4 separate regions of the Homo sapiens genome follow, and regions 2, 3 and 4 are each linked to region 1. Evidence: promoter capture Hi-C in human tissues and cell types (Jung and others, 2019). All regions are on one chromosome and are shown on one strand. The core of a region is centred on a gene start or on the middle of the fragment in contact, and the rest is flanking DNA. Distances in the headings are between cores, read along the strand shown.

The links. The method cuts DNA at HindIII sites, captures the fragments that hold promoters and counts their contacts. A contact is called where the count stands out against the background at its distance.
Region 2: a contact is called between a fragment that was not itself captured here and the fragment with the promoter of PIF1 in region 1, in 1 of the 25 tissues and cell types used here (adrenal gland).
Region 3: a contact is called between a fragment that was not itself captured here and the fragment with the promoter of PIF1 in region 1, in 1 of the 25 tissues and cell types used here (spleen).
Region 4: a contact is called between a fragment that was not itself captured here and the fragment with the promoter of PIF1 in region 1, in 2 of the 25 tissues and cell types used here (IMR-90 fibroblasts and spleen).

The regions. Positions count from the first base shown.
Region 1 is chr15:64,824,397-64,827,119 of GRCh38, reverse strand. PIF1 (PIF1 5'-to-3' DNA helicase) reads left to right here and starts at 1,473. Exons shown (of 13, transcript NM_001286496.2): 1 at 1,473-1,551. RefSeq lists enhancers at 1,211-1,340, 2,530-2,723. The HindIII fragment of the contact is 20,575 bases long and covers 1-2,723 here.
Region 2 is chr15:65,053,766-65,056,488 of GRCh38, reverse strand. It overlaps RASL12 (RAS like family 12), which reads left to right. Exons shown (of 5, transcript NM_016563.4): 5 at 1,215-2,723. The coding sequence ends at 1,590. Among named protein-coding and RNA genes, the nearest start is that of SLC51B, 9.7 kb to the right of the region's middle. RefSeq lists enhancers at 1,056-1,556, 1,557-2,057. The HindIII fragment of the contact is 7,731 bases long and covers 1-2,723 here.
Region 3 is chr15:65,034,291-65,037,013 of GRCh38, reverse strand. No RefSeq gene overlaps it. Among named protein-coding and RNA genes, the nearest start is that of MTFMT, 6.0 kb to the right of the region's middle. The HindIII fragment of the contact is 4,917 bases long and covers 1-2,723 here.
Region 4 is chr15:65,005,614-65,008,336 of GRCh38, reverse strand. MTFMT (mitochondrial methionyl-tRNA formyltransferase) reads left to right here. Exons shown (of 9, transcript NM_139242.4): 7 at 2,146-2,224. Among named protein-coding and RNA genes, the nearest start is that of SPG21, 17 kb to the right of the region's middle. The HindIII fragment of the contact is 5,429 bases long and covers 1-2,723 here.

The sequences.
Region 1 (2,723 bases), core at 224-2,723:
CTTTGATGGGCATTTTGTCCAATTCTTTGTTCAAAACGCCAAGAACCTGGACAACTTTCAGTCATCACCCTCTACCGCTAACAGACTGGGAGCAGTGTGGTGTAGTAGCTAAGCCCCATGGAGTGATTAAGCGAGCAGGTAATCTGGGTTCAATGTTTGGTTTTGCTCTCCATATCAGCTATGTGACCTTCAGTAAAATCTCTGGAAGCCTTGCTTTTTTCTCATTTGAAAAATAAGGTCCGGGCTCATGCCTGTAATCCTAGGACTTCGGGAGGCCACGGTGGGTGGATCGTTTGACCTCCGGAGTTCGAGACAAGCCTGGGAAACATGGTGACATCCCGTCTATACGAAAAAAAAATTATATATATATATGTGTGTGTATATATATATATGTGTGTGTATATATATATGTGTGTGTATATATATGTGTGTGTATATATGTGTGTGTGTGTGTATATATATATATATATATATATATATATATATATATATATAAATTAGCTGGGTGTGCATCTGTAGTTCCAGCTACCTGGGGGGCTGAGGCGGGAGGATCACCAGAGCCCAGGAGGCGGAGGTTGCAGTGAGCCACGATCGCGCCACGGCAGAGGTTGCAGTGAGCAGAGATTGTGCCACTGCACTCCACTACAGCCTGGGCGACAGAGTGAGCCCTAAGAAGGAAAAAGGAAAGGAAAGGGCAATTTAATCCATGGTAGTTATCATTATCTGTAAAATGAGGTAGCCAGACTCACCTGTAAGATCCTTTCCAGCTATGTAATTCCAAGCTTCAATGAGATAATAAAGATGATTAAAAGTAAATTCTTTCAGCATCCTGTGCAAGAAGAGGGATACAATTTCCCTGAAGACAGAGACTCTACTCGCTTCCGCTGTACCCTCTGGCACGTGGCACAGGTCTCAGAGTTTCTCACTCATGGGCCTCAGGTGGGTGAGAGAGCCAAAGCGTAAAGTCCCTTACAAAGGCAGAGAAGGATGTAGAGTTGGGGGCGGGGGAGGGATTGGGCAGGCCTTGGGGTGGTCTGCCCAGAACTGGACAATGGTACTGTGAGTGTAAACAGGGGTGTGAGAGTCCAAAGGCAGATCTTCCCCAAGGCTAAGCCCAGCCTCTGTGTGCGGGCTAGAGGGGAGAGGGAGTGTGCTGGAAGGATGGTTCTGAAAATAAATCTTCGGAGTCGCGTAGGGTTTTCAGACCCGACACCACGCGCCGCCGGGTGGCTGCCGCAGCGGCGGCCTCCTCCCACCACGCCCAGCCGTCCACTGGATTTGGTATGCTCAGCCACCACCATAAACCTCCTTCCTCTAGCAGGCAATTGGTACAGCCCAAGCTCCTGGAGTAGAGACGCAAAGAAAGACACGCCCATTGTTACGCCCCTACCTCTGAGTGGCTGGAGAATTTAAAGATCCAGTCGGTGATTGGGTGATTTTCTGCCTCTAGCATTTGAAAAATTTCTAGTTTCGGAGCTTAGCCACAGGCCGGCTACGATCTGCTTGTTCATCTGAGTGTCGGCACAAGTGAGTGTCTGCCCGAACCCAGAGGTGGGGAGCAAAGAGCCTGATTTATCTAGGGGTTTCCGGCGGGAGGGTGCAAACAAATGGGTCAGCCTGAGGGAGCACGGCTTCTAGGGTCCCAGGGTCCCCCGCGATTTCCCTAGCCGAATATTTTCCACCTCGTCCCCACCTTGGTGGTGGGAAGCGCGAGGGCATGGGAATCACACTGACTTTGACTACTAGCCGCTGTGGCTTATGAAGGGCAAGTGAGTTTCCCTCTCTTAGCCTGTTTCCACGTCTGTACACGGGGAAGAGTGAGACCTGCCCGCTGCATATAAGCCAGTGAATGTACCTACAAGGCAGAAGTCGCTTATTACACGGCAGCCCTCTTTGCATCTCCCCACGGGCGATTCTCCTGCTTCCTGGGGAGAGTACTCTGAGGATTCATGTGCTCGCCCTGGGTCTCGGGGAAGGAGGATTCTTTCTGCGCAGGGACCCCTGTTCTAGTGAGGTCCTTGCAGGACACCTGAGGCTCCCTAATCCTCGGTGCCCATCCGCCGCTCTGGAAATTGTTGTGTAGCACGGTGTGTGTGTATATGTGTGTGTGTGTGTGTGTGTATATATATAGAAATTGTATATATATTGTGTGTATATATATATAGAAATTGGATATATAGAAATGGAAATTGTGTAGCAGGGTGCGTGTGTGTATATATATATATACATATATATACACACACACACACACATATATATAATGTATGCATATGTATGTATTTATATGTATGTATTTTTTTTTTAATTAGAGGGTGTCGCTATGTTGCCCAGGATGGTCTCGAGTTCCTGGGCTCAAGCGATCTTCCTTCTTCAGCCTCCCAAAGTGCTGGAATTACAAGCGCCCGCCACCACGCCCGGCTAATTTTTGTATTTTTAGTAGAGACGAGGTTTCACCATGTTGGCCAGGCTGGTCTCAGAACTCCTAACTTCAGGTGATCCGCCCACTTTAGCCTCCCAAAGTGCTGGGATTAAAGCGCGAGCCACTGCGCCCGGCCCAGGGCATATTCTAAGGGTGGATTTTCGGTTAGCCCAAAGCCCTTTCTCCGTCTTTGTGACCTCTTTGTGTTACCAGTGACAGTCCTCGTGATCTTGTGTAGCCTTGACCCTGCTCCCTGTCACGTCCTTTATAGCACCCATTACGTCCCCTATAGCACCCATTACGT
Region 2 (2,723 bases), core at 163-2,662, 230 kb before region 1:
TGTTCTTTCCAAAAGGGTTCCTCAGGAAGCGGTGAGCTTACTGGCACCACGGCACCCAGCCCTGGGTGGGGAATAGATCCGATGCCTCTGACTCTTTTTTGTCCCAGTTACTCACTCTCTCTGAGACCGCGTGCCTCACCATGGAGTGGCACTCTGGGAAGCTAGCCCACTCTCAGCCCCTGCTCCTGCCAGGTCAGCCTTGGGCTCAGAAACTTTTCCCACCATGGCCCACTCGAGTGCCTCCTCTCATCTAGTGGCTGTGCCATTATCCTCGGGAATGGGCAGCGGGACAGCTCAGCAGTAGGTCAGGAAGATCCAGCCAGTGGAGTCTTGGCCCCAAGATCTCAGGGACCCCCCCATCTCTTCCCTCTTGTAGACATCCGACCTATGCAAGGCCAGTCTTCTTTTTCTTCCCGCCTCGATTCCCATGGCTTTCAGGTCAGAAGCCTCCAGGACCTTCCCAAGTTCCGGATATTCTATCCTCCCTTCACGGGAGGTGGTGTAGGACCAAGGCAGAATAGGTGTTGCCCCCTCTCTCCTTTTGCCCTCCTCACCATGAAATGTTGTCCCCCCTGCCCTCTCCTGCCTCTGCCCTGGTTTTATTATTTGCTTTTATGATGAGCTTGAATCTGCAACTTTGTCATTGTGAGGGCTTGAATAATGAATTTTCACAAACACAAACCCCAGGAGCCCTGAGAACTCTGCCAACCACAGGCTTCTGGAGTCACCTCTGTGGTCTAACCCTTCAGTCCAAACGACTGCTTCTCTCTAGAGCTGATCCCACAAGCCAGAGCTGTGGGTGGCCTGTTTCCTGCCCCAGGGACCCACGATGGGGTAGAGAAGAGATGGGGCTGGGAATGGCCTGCTTCCTCCAGCCACAGGCAGGGTCTAGCATAGGGGATTTGGAGTAGCTTCTTACCCTTACCCTCATCCCAAAATTCTGGCCTGGGTGACATCAGCTACCATTTATTGAGCACTGACTCTGTGCCAGGTACTGTGCTAAGCACTTGAAACAAATTGTCTTTCGTAATCCTAACAACCCTGAGAGGCAGAGGGCAGTAACCCACTGTACTGATAAGAACGCTGAGACTCAGAGAGGTGAAGATGACCCCAGGCCACCCAGCTAGTCCATGGGGCGCTGGGTGTAGGAGCTGGTCTGCCTGACTTGGCACAGCCTGCTCCTAACTCCCTGCCTCACACTGCTTCCTCACCAGGCAAGTCACCAAGGCAGAGGGTGTGGCTTTGGCAGGCAGGTTTGGGTGCCTGTTTTTCGAGGTCTCTGCCTGTCTGGACTTTGAGCACGTGCAGCATGTCTTCCACGAGGCAGTGCGAGAGGCACGGCGGGAGCTGGAGAAGAGCCCCCTGACCCGGCCCCTCTTCATCTCCGAGGAGAGGGCCCTGCCCCACCAGGCCCCGCTCACCGCGCGGCATGGGCTGGCCAGCTGCACCTTCAACACGCTCTCCACCATCAACCTGAAGGAGATGCCCACTGTGGCCCAGGCCAAGCTGGTCACCGTGAAGTCATCCCGGGCCCAGAGCAAGCGCAAGGCGCCTACCCTGACTCTCCTGAAGGGCTTCAAGATCTTCTGAGGCCCCCTCCCCAGGAAGCCTAGGCTCGGTGGCTGGACAGGACTGCAGCAGGACAGGGACTGGCTTCTCACCACCAGCCTTTCCGTCTGATGGACAGCAGACCCCGCCTCCAGCACCAAGCAGTGTCCCTACACTCAATTCACTGTGTGAGCTGGAGTGGCAGGCAGGGATGCTGCTTCTGTTCCCTCCAGGCCTTGGTCTTCATGGTAACCACCGCGTCTGTGGCCGTAGAGGGAAACAGCCACTGTGACAACCCAGAGACCTGGGGTCAGCCTTAAGTAGGAAGAAATTGCAGTGTCTATCCTGCTGCCATCAGCCCTTCCTGCTCCAGCTACAGTTGGGCCAGCTGTGGCCTTAGTGGATGGTCTGGGTGGATGGCTCTGTCAATGTCAGGCCCGAGAACAGCCTGCGGAATGACAGCCTGGGGTCCTTGTGCCACCTGGTGGACGGGAAAGGCAGGGCGGCTGCAGTTTCAGAGGCCAGAGCCTGGCCCTCCTGTCATCTGCTGACTTCACAGAAGGCCCAGGCTACAAACCCCACAGTTTATCCAAGGAAAATCTAGTTAAAATAATCCAATGGACAGAAGCCCCAGGAAGGGGTATTTCCAACACTTGGCGTCTCAATGAGGATAAAAGGGAGGGACTGTAGGTTGTCCAGCATAAGGAGCCCCAGAGTTCTTTCACCAGCAGACAGATTCTCCATGTGTTTTCCCACTGTTAAGGACTCTGTCCAAAGAACCTCAGCATCAGCTCCCTCAAGCTTAATGATCCAGGCTGCAGAAGAAAGTTGTCACTCCAGTGAGTTACCCAGGGCTCCAGGGAGCCCACAGCAGCATCAGACCCATCCAGGGGCTACAGGGCCTGCCCCCCTGCAGGTAGAAACACAGTATACCCGTTTGTCATCTGGTTTGGCAGGACCCAGGACCCTCAGCAATGAGTCTGAGTGTTCAAAGCCCACTTTAGAACCTAAAGCATTTTGGGTTAATAAAGCAAAATTTTGCTTATGTTATTTGGTGGTGTCACCGCAGCTTATACCAAGACACCATGGCTCAGACATGGGATCAGGACACACCTTTGAGATCCCACTGTTAGCAAGAAAAGGCTGTCCAAGGCAGGCAGTGTGGTAGTTGTCTG
Region 3 (2,723 bases), core at 123-2,622, 210 kb before region 1:
GATTATTTGCAGGCATACTATAGTTATAATAAGAAAACAAAAATTTAAGGAAATTTTTGTTTTGCTAAGCATAACCCATTTTACAACAAATTGCACTTTTTGGAGGCATCATCCTTAAATTTACCTGTATATTAATTTATCCATTTGGATTAAATTTTCCATTTAAGGTTTTCTGGCCAGGTGCGGTGGCTTATGCCTATAATCCCAGCACTTTGAGAAGCCAAGGCAGGTGGATCACCTGAGGTCAGGAGTTTGAGACCAGCCTGGCCAACATGGAGAAACCCTGTCTCTACTAAAAATACAAAAATTAGCCGGGCATGGTGGTGGGTGCCTGTAATCCTAGCTACCCAGGAGGCTGAGGTGGGAGAATTGCTTGCTTGAACCCGGGAGGCGGAGGTTGCGGTGAGGCAAGATCGTGCCACTGCACTCCAGCCTGGACGACAGAGTTAAGACACTCCGTCTCAAAAAAAAAAAAAAAAAAAAAAAAAAAAAAAAAAAAAAAAAAAGATTTTCTACAGTCTTGACCTCCTAGACAGAACATTTAATACATCTTGGATTCTAAGGGGGTTTGGCAATGTGGGTAGGTATTCTGAGGCATTTAGTCTCTCATTTCTGAAAACTGGATGATCTAAAGTATACAATATTATTCATTTCATGAATTTTGAGGGGTCCTCTGAAATAATATAGCAACCAAGGTAAGACTCACAAAGCTAATAATCAGGGAGATTTAGGGTAGTTCCTTTAACTATGTGTGGTGAAAGTGCCTTTCAGTTTGAACATTTAAAGCCCGCTAAATTGAGAGTTAGAGATGGAACATAAAGGACTAAAGAGATGTTTTTCATATGCCTAGCAGAACATAGAACATAAAAAAAAATACCGACAACATTTCAAAACACAATCTGAGTTTCATCATTGGTTTCATTCAGTTCTACATAATGAATTCTCCATAGGTGGATCCTGGGTCAGCAGTCCACATTTGCAGAATTATCTGCTTCTAGACAAAGGCACCCCGGCAATCCTGAGATGTAAGCGCTCTGGTACAATGTGCCAGGTATCCATGTGCAGCGGCAAAATCAGTTCACACAAAGAGGCCTGAACTCCTGAGTTTACTCCCTGCAGTATCAGTAGTTATATGATGGTACACTGTCACTCACTGCTGGTGGGAATGTAAAACGGTGTAGCCACTTTGGAAAACAGCTTGTCACTTCTAAGAATTAAAACATAGAGGCCGGGCGCAGTGGTTCACGCCTGTAATCCCAGCACTTTGGGAGGCCAAGGCAGGCAGATCACGAGGTCAGGAGATCGAGACCATCCTAGCTAACATGGTGAAACCCCGTCTCTACTAAAAATAGAAAAAAATTAGCCGGGTGTGGTGGCGGGCACCTGTAGTCCCAGCTACTCGGGAGGCTGAGGCAGGAGAATGGCATGAACCCGGGAGGCGGAGCTTGCAGTGAGCCAAGATCGCGCCACTGCAGTCTGGCCTGGGTGACAGAGCAAGACTCAGTCTCAAAAAAATAAAAAATAAATAAATAAAAAATAAAACATAGAGTGGGACTCAGCAATTCTACTTTTAGGTATATACCCAAGAGAATTGGAAACATATTTCTTTTTTTTTTTTGAGACAGAGTCTTACTTGGTTGCCCAGGCTGAAGTGCAGTGGCTTGATCTTGGCTCACTGCAACCTCTGCCTCCCGGGTGCAAGCAATTCTCCTGCCTCGGCCTCCTGAGTAGCTGGTACTACAGGCATGCACCACCACTCCCGATTAATTTTTGTGTTTTTAGTAGAGATGGGGTTTCACCATGTAGGCCAGGCTGGTCTTGAACTCCTGACCTCAAGTGATCGCCCGCCTCGGCCTCCCAAAGTTTTGGGATTACAGGTGTGAGCCACCGTGCCCAGCGGGTGGAAACATATTTCCACACAAAAGCTTGCACATGAATGTTCACGGTAGCATTATTCATCATAGCCAACAAGTGGGAACAATTCAAATGTTCAACTTGAGGCAAGATAGGTAGTCAAGGAAGTGACCATGTCCTCGGGATGCGGCAACCGTGGTGACCGTACAGTCAACACAATAAGCCCCAGCATTCGCACTGTAGTTGAGCTCATTCAAGCAAAGCTATCTACAGTAGGGAATTTCCCCTGTAAAGAGGATGTGCATTTTGGCCGGGCGCAGTGGTGCAGCCTGTAATCCCAGCATTTTGGGAGGCCAAAGCAGGAGGATTGCTTGAGCCCAGGAGCTCGAGACCAGCCTCGGCAACATGGCAAAACCCTGTCTCTACAAAAAAAAATTAGCTGGGCATGGTGGCGCGTGCCTATAGTTGGAAGGCTGAGGCGGGCGGATCACCTGAGCCTGGGAGGTCGAGGCTGCAGTGAACCGAGATCACGTCCCGGCACTTTACCCTGGGTGACAGAGCAAGACTCTGTCTCAAAAAAAAAAAAAAAAAAAAAAAAAGTGCCTGGTACAGCCCCTTCAGCCCCTACCCCCAAGGCTGTAAATTTTATTTTGATATTTCTTCCAGAAGCCAAGATCTCTGACTTATATACAAGGGCCTTTAGGCCAAGTGTGAGGAGCAAGCAGAAAGCACCTGTTAATGATAAGACTGGGTAGCTCTGGTTTAATTTATTACAGAGTCAGCTACATCAGATTGGAGGCAAGTAGGATTCCCACAGGAGAGCAGGATATAAGCAAATGAGCCTTTCTATAACTGTTACATAAGGACTG
Region 4 (2,723 bases), core at 69-2,568, 180 kb before region 1:
AAGGTGGTATTTCATACTGGAGGGAAGGGTAAGATGGATTATCTAGTAAATAGTATTGGGATAACTGGCCAACCATTGGTGGGGGAAGCCCTCAAATCCTATCTTTTAAAATCATAGTAAGTGCTATATTATAACAATGCATATGTAGTTAACAATACTGTATGGTATACTTACAATTTGTTAATTGAGCACATTTTTCTTATGTGTTTTTTACCATAATAAAAAAATCAAAATATAGATGGATCAAGGATTTAAATATAAAAAGTAAAATCACAAGGACTATAAAAAAGCACAACTGAATAATTTGACAATATTTAATAATCTTAAAGTGTGGGGTAGGCCTTTTTAAGTATGATACGAACCACCAAAGTAATGAGAGAAAAGACTTAGAAATATAATTATGAAAATAAAAAACTTATGCATGGAAAAAATGGCTGTCCCCAAGATTAAAAGTCAACAAACTGAGGAAAATATTCACAACACATGTAAGAGTTAAAAGGCTAATTTCCTAAATATAGAAAATATTTTTGCAAATTAATGAGATAACCATCCCAGTTTTAAAAAATATAACCAAAGGGCATAAATAGGCAGGTTACAGATAAATAAATTAAAAGTGCACATAAATATATGGACAGCTTCTCAGCTTCGCTAATAATAAACAGCAAGAGATTATCATATTTTTTTCTCACTTATCCAGGCAGTTTAGCAATAAAATGTTGATGCTGTTTAACCCACGCATTCCACTTTAAAAACAAAAAACCCCAAAACTATTATCCAGAAATGTGTAAGCCCTCAAAGATATATCGACAAGGTTATTACCCTAGTTTATAGTGTTATAAATAGCAATAAATTGAAAATAACAAATATCTATCATAAAGGTAGTTGCATAAATTACATATTCATAAAATGGGTTACTGTGCAGCAGATAGAGTGAAATTGATAAGTATGTACTGATGAAACATCAATGCTTTATGGTCACATAACAAAAGTCCTTGTAAAACAGTATTGATGCAGGACTTTTTGCTCCTTAACTCAGCTAAAATCTGGGTTCTTGTCTCACAACCAGGAAAAATTAGGCACGTGGACACATTGAAAGGTGAGGAGAGTGGAATTTATTAAAAGAAAGCTCTCAGCAAAAAAAGAGGGGGTCCTGCCAACAGGCTCCCACCTCACAGATTGAATACCAGGCCACCACACAGGAGCTGAAGAGGCCAGGCTCTTCCCCTGCATAAGGCAGAAATTCCTGGTGGCTCCACCCCCATTCTTCCAGTGCTCATGCGGGCCCTTAGTCTGAGCCACGCCACCTTGATTTATTTCCTTTACTGTGCATGTGTTAAGGGACAGAACTTTTCACCATGGACATGTTGAGTCAAGCCCACTGTGCATAATGACCTGGGTGGCATTTGGCTGTCTCCTGTCTCTATCACTGTGTTCTAGATTTTTATAATAATATTTGTAGAAAAAAATACAGGGAAATGCACATCAAACTTAACAGTCGTTACCTATAGGGATGGGAATAAATACAGAATATCACTTTCTAAAATTTTTTAACATAATGTAATGCTTGCATTTTTTATAAGGATAATAAATTTTTAATTGGAAATATTAGTATATTAGATATAAACATTGATTTTAAAGTAACATTTAAGATCTTATAAATCGGCCGGGCGCGGTGGCTCACGCCTGTAATCCCAGCACTTTGGGAGGCTAAGGCGGGCGGATCATGAGGTCAGGAGATAGAGACCATCGTGGCTAACATGGTGAAACCCCGTCTCTACTTAAAATACAAAAAATTAGCCGGGCATGGTTGCAGGCGCCTGTAGTCCCAGCTACTCGGGAGGCTGAAGCAGGAGAATGGCGTGAACCCGGGAGGCGGAGCTTGCAGTGAGCCAAGATCGCGCCACTGCACTCCAGCCTGGTGACACAACGAGACTCCGTCTCAAAAAAAAAAAAAAAAAGATCTTATAAATCCTGGAAACACTGATGTAGAGAGTCATGTTTACGGTCTGTTCCATCAAACTTAGTGACTGAGTTCCCAATTCCTCTAATTGAAAGAAAAGTCCAGATTAACACAAAATAGTAGTTGAAAAGGGTTTGGGAGTTGAGTGTATTCCTTTATCATACCTTCTTTAATTTTACTTGCAGATTCCGTTGCAGACGCTCTGGATGGCGAATACCATTAAACTTCTGGATTTGGTAGAAGTTAACAGTTCAGTCCTTGCTGGTACTAACTTTTGAATAGCTAACATGGAAGCTGTTTTCACTGTAGTGTATCTGGAAATACGTCTGTTTTATCATATGTCACAATTACTAAAAATAACTTTTAGTTTGTTTCAGTTCAGTAATTATAATACTTTACATTCACTTATTGTCTTATTCTTTGCAACACTCATTCTCATATATTTTCTCATTTAATCATTACAAGAACAGGCCAGGCGCGGTGGCTCACGCCTGTAATTCCAGCACTTTGGGAGGCCAAGGTGGGTGGATCAGCTGAGGTCAGGAGTTCGAGACTAGCCTGACTGACATGGTGAAGCCCCGTCTCTACTAAATACAAAAATTTAGCTGGGCATGGTGGCACATGCCTGTAATCCCAGCTACTTGGGAGGCTGAGGCAGGAGAGTCACTTGAACCTGGGAGGCAGAGGTTTCAGTGAGCCAAGATTGCGCCGCTGCACTCCAGCCTGGGCAATGAGTGAAACTCCATTTCAAAAAAAAAAAAAA